5 separate regions of the Homo sapiens genome follow, and all the other regions are linked to region 4. Evidence: promoter capture Hi-C in human tissues and cell types (Jung and others, 2019). All regions are on one chromosome and are shown on one strand. Each heading gives the region's core, a stretch centred on a gene start or on the middle of the fragment in contact. The rest is flanking DNA. Distances are from core to core; before and after follow the strand shown.

Region 1 (2,884 bases), core at 24-2,523, 420 kb after region 4:
TCCTCCTCCCCTTTCTCCTGCTCCTTTCTCTCCCCAAGGCAGGAATCTTCTCCTGCCTTTCTATCTTGGAGCTGGCCATAAAAAATTATCTGGCTTTCCTTGTTTGATTGCTATAAGACCCTCATTTCAAAACCCTATATCCTGGAGGAAAGACTGCTGCACAGGGAGGCTAAGAAGAATCTGAACAGACAGGCCTTGCTGGGTTTCCCCACTTAGTCTATTAGTATTAGATAGTATCCTTTTTGTTTAGTCACATTTCTGCATGGTTGTCCATGCAATGTGTGCATCTAATGAAGTCTCTATAAAAGGCTTTAGAGGACAGGGTTCAGGGAACTCCTGAGTAGCTGAACATGTGGAGGCTTACAGGAAGGTGAACACATGCTGGGGGGGTGGTGCACCCCAGCTCCACTGGGACAGAAGCTCTTGCACTGGAGACTCCGAAGCTCTTGCAATGGGGACTCTTCCAGACCTCTCCCTATATATCTCTTCATCTGGCTGTATATTTGTATCCAATATGCAAATATTGTATATTTGTATCCAATATACAATATTGTATTGGGTGGGGGGTGATGGGGACTCCAGCTTGAAACTGGTAGATCAGAAATTCTTGAGCCTCAGATCTACAACTGATGGAAAAGAGGGGGTGGTCATGTGGGACTGAGCTCTCAACCTGTGGTTTCTGAAGCTATCTCTAGGCAAATAGTGGCTGAAGTGAATTGAATTGGATGGTACCCAGCTACTGTCCGCTGCAGAATTGATTGCTTGTTGAGTGTGTGGGGAGACATCCAAAACATTTGGTCACAGAAGTCTTCTGTGATTGTTGTTACAGTGTGAGAACAGAGGGAAAAAAAACGAGTTTGAGTTTTACCACTTTCACACACTACTCTCTCTGATTTCAAAAAACATGGAAGAGTGGGGAGTGATAGAGATAGATATGAAAGGTAAAACATATAGATTAAAAGACTTTAGGTGCTGGTTCACTTGTGCCTGTAATTCCAGCGCTCTAAAGGCTGAGGTGGGAGGATGGCTTGAGGCCAGGAGTTCAAGACAAGCCTGAGCAATAGAGTGAGACCCTATCTCCTAAATAAAATATTTAAGGCCGAGTGCGGTGGCTCACATCCATAATCCCAGCACTTTGGGAGGCTGAGGCAGGTGGGTCAATTGAGGTCAGGAGTTTGAGACCACCCTGGCCAGCATGGTGAAACCCCATCTCTACTAAAAATAGAAAAATTAGCCTGGCATGATGGTGCATGCCTGTAATCCCAGCTGCTCGGGAGGTTGAGGCAGGATAATCGCTTGAACCCAGGAGGTGGAGGTTGCAGTGAGCCAAGATCACGCCACTGCATTCCGACCTGGGTAACAGAGCAAGACTCCATCTAAAAAAAAAAACTTAAGGCATATTAATGATTTCTGGATCTAATTTGGATCCTGATCCAATCAAACTGCAATAAAGAGAAAGAATTGAAGTTATTGGGTAAATTTGAATATTGGATATTTAAAATAAAGGAATTGTTAATTTTTTAGGTGTGATATTGGCATGGTGATGTATATTCCTCCTGTATAAAAAGCACTAACCATAAAAGAAACTGTTGGTAAATTGAGCAACATTAAAATTAAGAACTTATGTTTATTGAACCACAGTATTAAGAGTGAAAAGGAAGGCCACAGGCAATGAGAAGATATTTATAACAAATGTATCTGATGCAGGGCTAATTTCTAGAATCTATAAATAATTACTTCAAAATAAATGTATATAAAAAGACAACTCAGTAGAAAAATGGGCACTTTGTTTTTTTATTTTTTTTGAGACAGGTTCTCACTCTGTTGCCCGGTTGGAGTGCAGTGGCTCACCAAAGCCTCAAACTGCTGGGATCAAGGGATCCTCCTGCCTTTGCCTCCCTAATAGCTGGAAATACAGGCAAACACCACCATGTCTGGCTAATTTTTGTATTTTTTTGTAGAAACAGAGTCTCACTATGTTGACCAGGCTGGTCTTGAACTCCTGGGCTCAAGCATTCCTCCTGCCTCAGCCTCCCACAGTGCTGGTATTATTGGTGTGAGCTACCATGCCCAGCCAAAAATGGGCACTTCAGATGATCAATAAACATGAAAAGATGCCTAGTATCATTAGCCATCTGAGAGGTGCAAAATTAAAACCCTCGATAAGATACAACTGCACACCCACTAGATTGGCTAAAATTAAAAAGAATGAAAACTTTGACGGTTGGCAAGTATATGGAGCAAGAGGACCTTTCATAGACTGCTTGAGGGAGTATAGATTGGCACAATCATTCTGGAAAACTGCTTGACAATATTTACTAAAGCTAAATATACACAGACTTTGTGACCAAGCAGTTCCACTCTTAGGTGATTGCCCAGTAGAAATCTGTACATGTATTCACTGAAAGTCAAGTTCCAGAACATTCAAAGCAGTGTTCTTTGTAGTAGCCCCAAACTTCAAACAATCCAAATTGTGAATAATGCTGCTAGGAACATGAGTGTACAAATATCTGTTTGAGTCTCTGCTTTCAGTTCTTTTTCTTTTTCTTCTTCTTCTTCTTCTTTTTTTTTTTTTTTTTGAGACAGAGTCTTGCTCTGTCATCCAGGCTGGAGTGCTGTGAATAATGCTGCTAGGAACATGAGTGTACAAATATCTGTTTGAGTCTCTGCTTTCAGTTCTTTTTCTTTTTCTTCTTCTTCTTTTTTTTTTTTTTTGAGACAGAGTCTTGCTCTGTCATCCAGGCTGGAGTGCAGTGGCATGATCTTGGCTTACTACAACCTCTGCCTCCTGGGTTCAAGCGATTTTTGTGCCTTAGCCTCCCGAGTAGCTGGGACTTCAGGACTGTGCCACCATGCTCTGCTAATTTTTGTATTTTTTGTAGAG
Region 2 (2,688 bases), core at 101-2,600, 440 kb after region 4:
TGTCTGGTAAGGAGCTGCTTTCTGGTTCATCCAGGGCTTCTCACTGAGTCCTTATGTGGTGGAAGAAGGATTTCTCTGGGACCTCTTTTATAAGGGTGCTAATCCCATTAATGAGGGGTTCAGCCTCATGACCTAATCACCTTCCAGTAGCTCCATCTTCTAATACCATTGAGATGGGGGTTAGGATTTCAGCGTATGAATTTTGGGGAGACATAAATATGCAGACCACCGTAGGCCAAGACTTCAGATTGGGGTAGGTGGCAGGCACTTATTTCACTTCTTTCTGAAGGAGCTTGTTACTGACAGATTATCATTTTAGGTCCTTTAGTTCAAGCTTGTCTGACCCACGACCCAACACAAATTCGTAAACTTTCTTAAAACATTATGAGTTTTTTGTTTTTTGTTTGTTTGCTTGTTTTAGCTTATCAGCTATCGTTAGTGTTAGTGTATTTTATATGTGGCCCAAGACAGTTATTCTTCTTCCAGTGTGGGCCAGGGAAGCCAAAAGATTGGCTCCTGCTTTAGGTCTTTTTTTTTTTTTTTTTTTTTAAGACAGAGTTTTGCTCTTGGTTGCCCAGGCTGGAGTGCAATGGCACAGTCTCGGCTCACTGCAACTTCTGCCTCTCGAGATCAAGTGATTCTCTTGCCTCAGCCTCTTGAGTAGCTGGGATTACAGGCACCTGCCACCACGCCCAGCTAATTTTTTTGTATTTTTAGTACAGACGGGGTTTCACCATGTTGTCCAGGTTGATTTTGAGCACGTGACCTCAAGTGATCTACCTGCCTTGGCCTCCCAAAGTGCTGGGATTACATGTAGGTGTAAGCCACTGGGCCTGGCCTAGGTCATCATTTTTTAAACAACCCTGTAAAATCTCACCAAGATTTTTCACTTGTTTCCAGATTATAATGGATTCTGTTTGACTCTGGTCTCCAGGTTGTCAAATGACATATTTTCAGGATATAAGACTATAAGTAGACTTTTCTATTAACAGTAAAGCTTGTGAATCTTGGTTTGATATGTACAAACAGAGCCACCACTATGTACCCCAGTTTCTGGTTGGAGTGACAGAATGAGAACACAGCCAATTTCTGAGCAGCTAGCGGTTTGGGGACACAGTAGGAATTTAATACTGGGTGATCGTTGTATCTTACAAGGTGCATCCTCAAGTAGTAATAACTCATTTGTCAGAGATATATGGTGGTGTTTTGCAGTGATTTGCAAACTGTGTTCTCTGCTGATACGTTAGGGGTTCTCCAAACAAAATTTAAATCTGACAGTGAAGATGAATTGAGACTCCTTCACGCTGTTATCTCAGCACAGGTGAGGGTGAGGCACTTGATGTTAGGAAAACCTTGCTTTAACCCATGTGTCTTTGCGATGGAACAGAAGGATAAGCGAGCCGCTTTGAAAATCAGATTGAATTTTTTTTTTGTAGTAAAGTTTTATCAAACATTTAAGACCTTTACAAACTTGACTAAATTTTGTTATTCATTTCAAATTAATATCAGAAATCTAATGTGTTACATTTTCTTTTTTTTAATATATATTTTAAATTATACTTTAAGTTCTAGGGTACATGTGCACAACGTGCAGGTTTGTTACATATGTATACATGTGCCATGTTGGTGTGCTGCACCCATTAACTCGTCATTTACATTAGGTATTTCTCCTAATGCTTTCCCTCCCCCTCCCCCCACCCCACAACAGGCCCCAGTGTGTGACATAAATTTTATGTCAGATAATGTAGAACAGAGAAGCATCAAAAAATGACTCAATGGTCTTGATAAATTCATTTGAAGATGAAATTATGTTAAAATTTTATAGTTCAGTAATTTAAAAGTATATTATAGTTTTTTTCTTTTTGTTTTGGATGATTTGCATGTAAACAAGTGTAAGGAATCTTTGTAAAGCATCAGAAGAAAATTTTAGGTGTTTTGATGTTCATTAACAGACTATTAGCAAGATGTCAAAGGAATAATAATGCCTGTGCAGATGGTAACTGCTTTGTTCTGTTCCTCTTTTCCCCCAAAACAGATTTGTAAAAATTGTATTTGTTACATTATTCACAAACCTTTTCTACAAAATATATACCAAACTGGGTTCTTTTGAAAGATTTTTCTAGTAATTTTTAGGTCATTTCCATATATATTATGTGCAGTTTAAAAAGCAAACCAACCCTAGTTTGTTAAATAATTACCCTGTTTTTACTTAAAAAAAATGGGGTTGTGCACCTGTGTAAAGTTTGTACATCTTAGCAGTATAAATTACTGACACATTTTTAAAAATGAAGTAAAAACTCAGAATCCTTGTGATTCAGTGCCCTTATGTTTTTAAAAAAGAGGAAAAAATAATGCAAGATTCAGAATATTGGAGTGGTTGATATGCCTTCTTCATTTTAGTTTTTGACTGGCTGCTCATATGCCGATGATGATGAAGCTGAGCTGTTTGTGCCACTGCCATTTGATGCTGCGAGAATCACAACTGTTTCATCTGTTGCTGCTGCTATTAAAAGGCAGAGTAGTAACTGGCCACTGAATTAAATTTAAAAGAAAGGCAGGGGAGAGCCGGCATCTCTGCTGAGGATGGCTTTGCTTAGGTCTTTTCTTAGCCCTGCAACTACTTAACACTTCATATGCTTGCTGAAGGGGTAGGTCTGCCCTTGACTGGTTGAACCTTGTTCAGAATCC
Region 3 (2,846 bases), core at 162-2,661, 320 kb after region 4:
TGGCCCTCTATGAAGGATAACAGTAGACCTGTCTTGTAAGGTTATTGTGAAGTAAAACTTGTAGAATGGAGCTTGGCACAGAGTAAGCTTCAATCAATGTCAGCTCTTCATTACCCAACCTTGGCGCTGCATGACGAACACCTGTGGATGGTTAAAAACTGCACTGCAGGTTACTTCCCTCAGAGCCTCTGGGGTGGGACCCAGGCTTCCGTATTTTTTTTTAAGCCCCTTAGGTAATTTCATTGTGTGCACAGGGCTGAAAACTGCCTGAGGCTGCAGTCTCTCAAGTGCTAGTTCACACAGATATTTATTTATTTATTTTTTGAGACAGAGTTGCGCTCTTGTCATCCAGGCTGAAGTGCAATGGCGCAATTTTGGCTCACTGCAGTCTCCGCCTCCCAGGTTCAAGAGATTCTTCTTCCACAGCCTGCCGAATAGCTGGGATTACAGGTACGCGCCACCATGCCGGGCTAACTTTGTATTTTTAGTAGAGACGGGGTTTCACCATGTTTCACCATGTTGTCCAGGTTGCTCTCAAAATCCCGACCTCAGGTGATCCACCTACTTTGGCCTCCCAAAGTGCTGGGATTACAGGCATGAGCCACCATGCCCGGCCACACACAGATAAATTTAAACGTTCCCTACAGGTCTTTGTTGGGTCCTTTTGGAAGCAACTCCTGCCCCCGTGCCCCACAAAGGAGCATTTTCTTGTATGTGTCAGAATCATTTCTCTTTTCCCCTACCCCACTGCAAACCCCACCCAAGTTCAGAAGAAAAATACCTTCAAGAACTCTGACCAGATAGAGGAAAAGTGCATTGACTCAATCTACCTCCTTCCTCACTCCCTTCTTGGAGGAGGCCCCTTCCCAAAAGACCTTCCTGGAAAAATCTTCCTTTGGTGTCTCCAAGGAACTATGCTCTCCAGGGCACGCAACAACAGAGTAAGAATTCATCTACCACTAAAGACTGAATATAGTATGCAGTATAAAACTATTTAAAAGGGCCAGACGCGGTGGCTCATGCCTGTAATCCCAGCACTTTGGGAGGCCGAGGCGGGTGGATCACGAGGTTAGGGGTTCAAGACAAGCCTGGCCAAGATGGCAAAACCCCATCTCTACTAAAAATACAAAAATTAGCCGGGCATGGTGGCGGACACCTGTAATCCCAGCTACTCAGGAGGCTGAGACAGAGAATTGCTTGAACCCGGGAGGCAGAGGTTACGAGATCACACCACTGTATTCCAGCTTGGGCGACAGAGCAAGACTTCATCTCAAAAAAAAAAAAAAAACTTATTTAAAAGAAGGCGCCAGGCCAGGGTCGGTGGCTCACGCCTGTAAATCCCAGCACTTTGGGAGGCCAAGGTGGGGCAGATCACCTGAGGTCAGGAGTTCGAGACGAGCCTGGCCAACACGGTGAAACCCTGTCTCTACTAAAAATATAAAAATTAGCCAGATGTGGTGGTGCGTGCCTGTAATCCCAGCTACTCAGGAGGCTGAGGCAGGAGGATCACTTGAACCTGGGAGGCGGAGGTCGCAGTGAGCCGAGATCACGCCACTGCACTCCAGCCTGGGTGACACAGCAAGACTCCGTCTCATAAATAAATAAATAAGGCACCATAACAAAATACAGTTTATCCTAAACATGGTTTAATAGTTGGGAAGTTGGTCATATTATGTCTTTTTCCTAAATACATGCAGAGGTAAGAGACCTAACCCTGGGAGTGTGTTTGGAGGAATGAATGCTTTAAAATCAATCCCAGAATCGGTAAGTGTAATGCACAACAGTAACTGAATGACAGACAAAAACCACATGATCATCTTAGTCAATGCACAAAAAGCTTTTGAAAAAGTTCAACACGCTTTCATGATTAAAAAAAAAATGCAGCAAACTAGAAATAGAAGAAAACTACCACAATATGATAGCCATATATGAAAACCCCATAGTTAAATCATACTCAATGATGCAAGACAAACTTTTTCCTCGAAGATCAGGAACAAGACAAGAATGCCCACTTTCACCACTTCCATACCACGTAGTCTTGGAATTTCTAGATAGAGCAATTAGGCAAAAAGGAAGAAAAGGAAAGAAAAGAAAAAAGAAAAGGAAAAGGAGGGAATAGAAAGAAAAGAAGAAAGAAAGAAAATGCATCCAAATTGGAAAGGAAGAAGGAAAATTATTATTCATAGATTATATGATCTTAGAAAACCCTAAAGATTCCACAAAAAACCCTTTGGAACTACTAAACAAATTTGGCAAAGCAGCAGGACACAAAAGCAATACATGAAAATCAGTTGTGTTACTATATACTAACAAAGAACAATCTGAAAATGAAATTAAGAAAATAATTCTATTTATAATAGCATAAAAAGAATACAGCTGGGTGCGGTGTCTCACGCCTGTAATCCCAGCATTTTGGGAGGCTGAGGCAGGCAGATCACATGAGGTTGGGAGTTCGAGGCCAGCCTGACCAACATGGAGAAACCCCTTCTCTACTAAAAATACAGAATTAGCTGGGCATGGTGGTACATGCCTGTAATCCCAGTTACTCGGGAGGCTGAAGCAGGAGAATCGCTTGAACCCCATAGGTGGAGGTTGTGGTAAGCTGAGATCGTGCCATTGCACTCCAGCCTGGGCAACAAGAGCGAAACTCCATCTCTAAAAAAAAAAAAAGGAATAAAATAGTCATTGAAAGACTTGTGCAATGAAAACCACAAAACATTGCTGAAAGCAATTTTAAAAGACATAAATAAATGGAAAGATACCCTATGTTTATGGATTGAAAGACTTCATATTGTTAAGATGTCAAAACTATCCAAAGTGATCTATAGATTTCACGTAGTCTTTAT
Region 4 (2,774 bases), core at 238-2,737:
GAGCCTGCCGAGGCTGCACTGCCGGCCTGGCTGGGTGACCTTGAGCCTATCTGGGCCTGTGAGCTCACCATGCAAAGGAGCTGGACCACAGAATTCTGAGTCCTTTCTAGCTCTAAACACTGTGGCCCTAAGTATCTATATGTGAAACAAAATTGTCCTGACATTTGTCTCTGGGTACTGAACTATTAGGAGATTTTGATTTTTTCATCTCCATTTTGCAAACAGTCTGTACTAAGATTACACTACTGTGTTTCTGTTTTGTGTGTATTCAGAAGCACAAAAAGTCTGTGGTTCTAGAAAGGAAATAGAAAAGTTCTTAAAAAAAAAAAAGTGGGGAAGTGAAACAAATGTTAAAGTCAGAGGAGAAAGAAAGGCCCAACCGGAGGCCCCAAATCCACCCAGAGCCCAGAAGCCCGGGTTTCCCACCGACCGGCTGCGGTCTTTGTCAGCTCTCTGGCGCTATCTGCTGTCCTTCTCGATAACAACCGTTTAATTTGGTTTGCAAAATTGCTCTGACGCAAATCCACCGTGAACACTGACGGGGTCACATTCAGCATAAAAATCGCATTCTGTTTACAGGAAAATCTGGCCCCATACTTGCTCCCATATTCACTTTTGACTTTGCCTTGCAGTACTAACTGTAACAGGGACACCTGAGCAAGTCCCTTCTGTATAAGGCCCAAAATGGTCACCCAATACCAATGAGTCTCTTGCTTTGGAAAGCCCAGGAATGCACCTCCAGCCCCTTCTGCGCAGCGCTCGGACACCATGTAGAGGAGAAGGCACTCTGCAGAACTCGCCCTCAGCCCGCACCACCTGTCCAGGGGACTGGCTGCGTGTCAATGTGTCTCTGCTCCCGGGGTTCCCGCAGATCTTTAACTTATTGGCCTTTGGGCTAATTCAGTCCTTCAAGCATTCCTCGCCCAACATGCCAGGAAGTCTTCTCACGTGTCTTCCACCCCATACCTACCAGTTCTGTTTTCCCACTACCCGATGAAAGTGTAACCGCCCCCCGGCGCCCCCCCCCCCCACCACCACACACACACCCTGTTGGTCCCATCCTCAGGGCGTGGTGGTCCAGGTGAACGCTTGCCCTCTTTTTGAGCTGAACCTCCCCACAGAGGCTGTCAGCAAAGACTGCTTTGCTGTCCAAGGCCGGCCTTTAGGTACAGGACACTATGCATGTCCAGCGAGGCTTGTTGAAGCCACATCTGTCATAGATATTGATGGGAAAAGCATTTTCCTTCTAACACATCTCATTCCAATTCTAAAAGGCACCTCTGAAGCCTTGCTGAACTTCATCAAGATTTTCACGTGGTTTCCTTAGTAAAGTGTGATGAGAAGGTCCATCCTTCTCAGGATGAAGGAGTGGTCCAGGAAGCCCTGATTGGTCTGCCGGGGAGGGAAGGGCTGCCTTATTTGGAGACCTGCAGGAATGCCACCTCCCCCGGCAGCTCCTATATAGCTGGGCGGACCTGGCTGCCAAGAGGGTGTGCTGGGGGACTGTGCAGCTCGAGGCTCCAGAGGCACACTCCAGAGAGAGCCAAGGTACGTGGGGGGCCACTTCTGTGGTCAGGACTGCTGGTTTCTTATCAAGGCTCGATCCCAGATTGAAAATCATGCAATGATTTCTTTACTCCCACACCTGGGGATGGGTCCCAAGTTCAGGGTAGACTTGCGAGGATACCCAGTCATCACTGGGCTTGCCTTTCTCTAAGTTGGTGCTATAATAAAATGCTACTTTAGGGTTTGTGGGTTGGGATTTTGTTTTGCCTTTAAGCTTCTGCCTATGAAAACTAATCTCTTTCTCAAGAATGCTGTGCTTTTATTTTTTTTATTTGACTCACCTGAAATGATCTATTATGCCATTAATCTTATTTAAGATTTCTCCTTAAAAAAGGAATGATGTGGAGTATGGCCCTATTTAGGAGACTAATGAATATTTGCTTCATGCTTGGATCTCTTTGGAGAAAGTCAGTCTGAGTTCACTGTGCTCAGGAGGCAGAGAGAGTGGGGTGAGGGGGTCCAGATGCTCATAGCCACCCTGGGACAAAGACGAGGCGATGTCTACAAGCAAGGAAAGGTCAGTGAGGCCTCTTTGCAGGCTTCTAGAGATGACTGGATGTGCTTCTAGAGATCACTTCAGCTGTGTTTTGCCTTTTTTTTTTAATATAAGGAGCAATGTGGCATCAGAGTTGAACATTTTATCAGAGGAACATTAGCCACTTTTAGGGAAGCTGCAGCAGGGTGGTGGAGGGTGTGTGAGGGGCGAAACAAGCTCCCTGTCAGCCTCCTCCAGCTCTGGGGCCCCATGGCCTCACAGTAAGTCTTTGCCTAGGAGACAGCTTAGGCAAGCTCCGGTATGGGAACTCCTTCCATTTCCCTAATCCACACAGGCAAAGACCCAGGTGCTAGAATGCCCTGACAGTCGGCCTTGGGAAGTGGATTTCCTTGATGGCTATTGTAGATTCAGGAGCCGAATGTGACAGGCAACCTTAAGGTGTGGGGTGAGGGGCTTTTCCATGACATCAGTGGCAGCCCTTCGGATGTCCCAGGGCCACCTTGACCCGGGACCCTCCTGGTGTTCCCCCAGGCCCTCCTGTCTTCCCTTTCATCTCGTTTTCTCCGAAATTCCTCAAGGGCCCTGCCCTTTGCCCTTTGCCCAGCTCAGGGGGCATCATACCCAGTGAGTGAAAAGCACAGTGTGTGAGCACTGTCTTCTCCTGAAACCCAGATGGGCAGTGGGGCATGGCTAGTGGACACATGCAGTGCAG
Region 5 (2,782 bases), core at 40-2,539, 270 kb after region 4:
GAGAATTGCTTGAACCAGGGAGGCGGAGGTTGCAGTGAGCCAAGATCACACCATTGTACTCCAGCTTGGGCAACAAGAGCAAAACTCCACCTCAAAAACAAAAAGTAGCTGACCGTGTGTGGTGGCTCACGCCTGTAATCCCTGCACTTTGGGAAACCGAGGGGGGGCCAATCACCTGAGGTCAGGAGTTCGAGATCAGCCTGGCCAACATGGTGAAACCCTGTCTCTATTAAAAATACAAAAATTGGCTGGACACAGTGGCTCACACCTGTAATCCCAGCACTTTGGGGGGTTGAGGCAGGTGGATCATGAGGTCAAGAGTTAGAGACCAGCCTGGCCAACATAGTGAAACCCTGTCTCTATTAGAAATACAAAAATTTGCCAGGCATGGTGGCACACACCTGTAGTCCCGGCTACTCGGGAGGCTGAGGCAGGAGAATCACTTGAACCCAGGAGATGGAGGTTGTGGTGAGCTGAGATCGCGCCCCTGCACTCCAGCCTAGCGATAGAGAGAGACTTCGTCTCAAAAAAAAAAAAAGAAAGAAAGAAAAAAAAAATTAGCCAGGTGTTCAGGCACCTGTAATCCCAGCTACTAGGGAGGCTGAGACAGGAGAAGCGCTTGAACCTGGAGGTGGAAGTTGCAGTGAGCCAAGATTGCGCCATTGCACTCCAGCTGAGCAGCAAGAGTGAGACTCTGTCAAGGAAAGGGAAAGGGAAAGGGAAAAGGAAAAGAAATCGCTAACTAGGCCGGGCGCGGTGGCTCACATTTGTAATCCCAGCACTTTGGGAGGCCGAGGCGGGTGGATCACAAGGTCAGGAGGGAGTTCGAGACCAGCCTGACCAATGTGGTGAAACCCCATCTCTACTAAAAATACAAAAATTAGCCGGGCATGGTGGTGGGTGCCTGTAGTCCCAGCTACTCAGGAGGCTGAGGCAGGAGAATCACTTGAACCTGGGAGGCAGAGCTTGCAATGAGCCGAGATCGCTGCTGCACTCCAGCCTGGGTGACAGAGCGAGACCCCGTCTCAAAAAAAAAAAAAAGAAAAAGAAATAGCTAACTATAGGAAGGAGGAAAAAAAAAGACAAAATGATCATTTGCAGCTACAAGTTAAGTATTCCTTGTATAAAATGCTTGGGACCAGAAGTGTTTCAAATTTTGTATCTTTTCTGATTTTGGAATATTTGCATATATATATAGTGAGATATCTTGAGAATGGGACCGAAGTCTGAACACAAAATTCATTTATGTTTCATATACGCCTTAGACACATAGCCTGAAGGTAATTCTACTCAATATTTTAAATAATTTTGTGTATAATGGCCAGGTGCAACGGCTCACACCTGTAATCCTGGCACTTTGGAAGGCCAAAGCAGGAAGATCGCTTGAGCCTAGGAGATTAAGGCTGCAGTGAGCCATGATCTTGCCACTATACTTCAGCCTGAGTGACAGAGCAAGATCCCTTAAAAAAAAAAAAATTTGCATATGAAATAAAGTTTTGACTGCAACCCATGACATGAGGTCAGGTGCGGAATTTTCCACTCGTGGCATCCTGTCAGTGCTCAAAAGTTTCCCATTTTAGATTTGGGGATTAGAAATGCTCAATGTGTATTATGATTACCTATCTAAGAAACTCAAGAGAATCTACTGAAAAATAAGAACAACAGAGTTTGGTTAAGTAGCATAGCAGACACGGTGCTATTACATTTTCCTCACGGACACACCAAAGGACTCCACTTCCCAGCCCCCTTGCACCTAAAATACAGCCAACAGACCGCAGAAGAAATACTACTACTTCCAAGCTTGGCCCATGAAAAAAACTTCCATGCACAAAATTACACGGCAAACTTAAGGTCACATCTTCTTGTCAGTTGTGACAAAAATGGAAGGAGCCCAGATCCCCAAGTCACCACTTAGAAAAGAACCATCTAAAAAAGTGTGAGCAAGAAATAAATGTTTTCTTTGTCAGGCCACAGATTTTAACTAGCATTACCTACCCTGACTAATACAGGTTATAAAACATACAGACTGGCCAGGTGCAGTGGCTCATCCCTGTAATCCCAGCACTTCAGGAGACCAAGGCAGAGGATTACTTGAGGCTGGGAGCTGGAGGCCAGCCTGGGCAACACAGCAAGATTCCATCTCTAGCTTATTTTTTATTTTATTTTATGGTTTTTTTTGAGACAGAGTCTCACTCAGTGGCCTGGGCTGAAATGCAGTGGCGCGATCTCGACTCACTGCAACCTCCGTTTCCTGGGTTCAATTGATTCCCATGCTACTCAGCCTCCTGAGTGGCAGGGACTACAGGCATGCACCACCACAACCAGCTAATTTTTTTTTTTTTTAATAGAGTGGGGGTTTCACCATGTTGGCCAGGCTGGTCTTGAACTCCTGGCCTCAGGTGATCCACCCACCTCGGCCTCCCAAAGTGCTGGGATTTCAGGCGTGAGCCACTGCCCCGGCCTCCATCTCTTATCTTATTATAAAAACAAGGCCGGGCACAGTGGCTCACGCCTGTAATTCCCAGCACTGTTGGAGGCCAAGGCAGGTGGATCGCTAGAGGTCAAGAGTTCAAGACCAGCCTGACCAACATGGTGAAACCCTGTCTTTACTAAAAACACAAAAGTGGCCAGGCATGGTGGAACAGGACTGTAATTCTACATCGGAGGCTGAGGCAAGAGAATCACCTGGGAGAAGGAGGTTGCAGTGAGCTGAGATCGCACCACTGACGCCAGCCTGGGCAACAAGAGCAAAACTCCATCTCAAAAAAAAAAAAAAAAAAAA

What was found. Contacts are between HindIII fragments. The study calls those that stand out against the background at their distance.
Region 1: a contact is called between a fragment that was not itself captured here and the fragment with the promoter of PRND in region 4, in 1 of the 25 tissues and cell types used here (lymphoblastoid cells).
Region 2: a contact is called between a fragment that was not itself captured here and the fragment with the promoter of PRND in region 4, in 1 of the 25 tissues and cell types used here (spleen).
Region 3: a contact is called between a fragment that was not itself captured here and the fragment with the promoter of PRND in region 4, in 1 of the 25 tissues and cell types used here (lymphoblastoid cells).
Region 5: a fragment that was not itself captured here is called in contact with the fragment with the promoter of PRND in region 4 in 1 of the 25 tissues and cell types used here (spleen).

What each region holds. Positions count from the first base shown.
Region 1 is chr20:5,141,068-5,143,951 of GRCh38, forward strand. The region is part of intron 1 of CDS2 (CDP-diacylglycerol synthase 2); the gene reads left to right. Among named protein-coding and RNA genes, the nearest start is that of CDS2, 16 kb to the left of the region's middle. The HindIII fragment of the contact is 5,707 bases long and covers 1-2,884 here.
Region 2 is chr20:5,157,637-5,160,324 of GRCh38, forward strand. The region is part of intron 1 of CDS2 (CDP-diacylglycerol synthase 2); the gene reads left to right. Among named protein-coding and RNA genes, the nearest start is that of CDS2, 32 kb to the left of the region's middle. The HindIII fragment of the contact is 3,264 bases long and covers 1-2,688 here.
Region 3 is chr20:5,044,132-5,046,977 of GRCh38, forward strand. No RefSeq gene overlaps it. Among named protein-coding and RNA genes, the nearest start is that of SLC23A2, 44 kb to the left of the region's middle. RefSeq lists a silencer at 1,108-1,327. The HindIII fragment of the contact is 5,043 bases long and covers 1-2,846 here.
Region 4 is chr20:4,720,422-4,723,195 of GRCh38, forward strand. PRND (prion like protein doppel) reads left to right here and starts at 1,488. Exons shown (of 2, transcript NM_012409.4): 1 at 1,488-1,548. RefSeq lists an enhancer at 191-410. The HindIII fragment of the contact is 13,371 bases long and covers 1-2,774 here.
Region 5 is chr20:4,988,210-4,990,991 of GRCh38, forward strand. All of the region lies in intron 1 of SLC23A2 (solute carrier family 23 member 2), which reads right to left. Among named protein-coding and RNA genes, the nearest start is that of SLC23A2, 12 kb to the right of the region's middle. The HindIII fragment of the contact is 6,103 bases long and covers 1-2,782 here.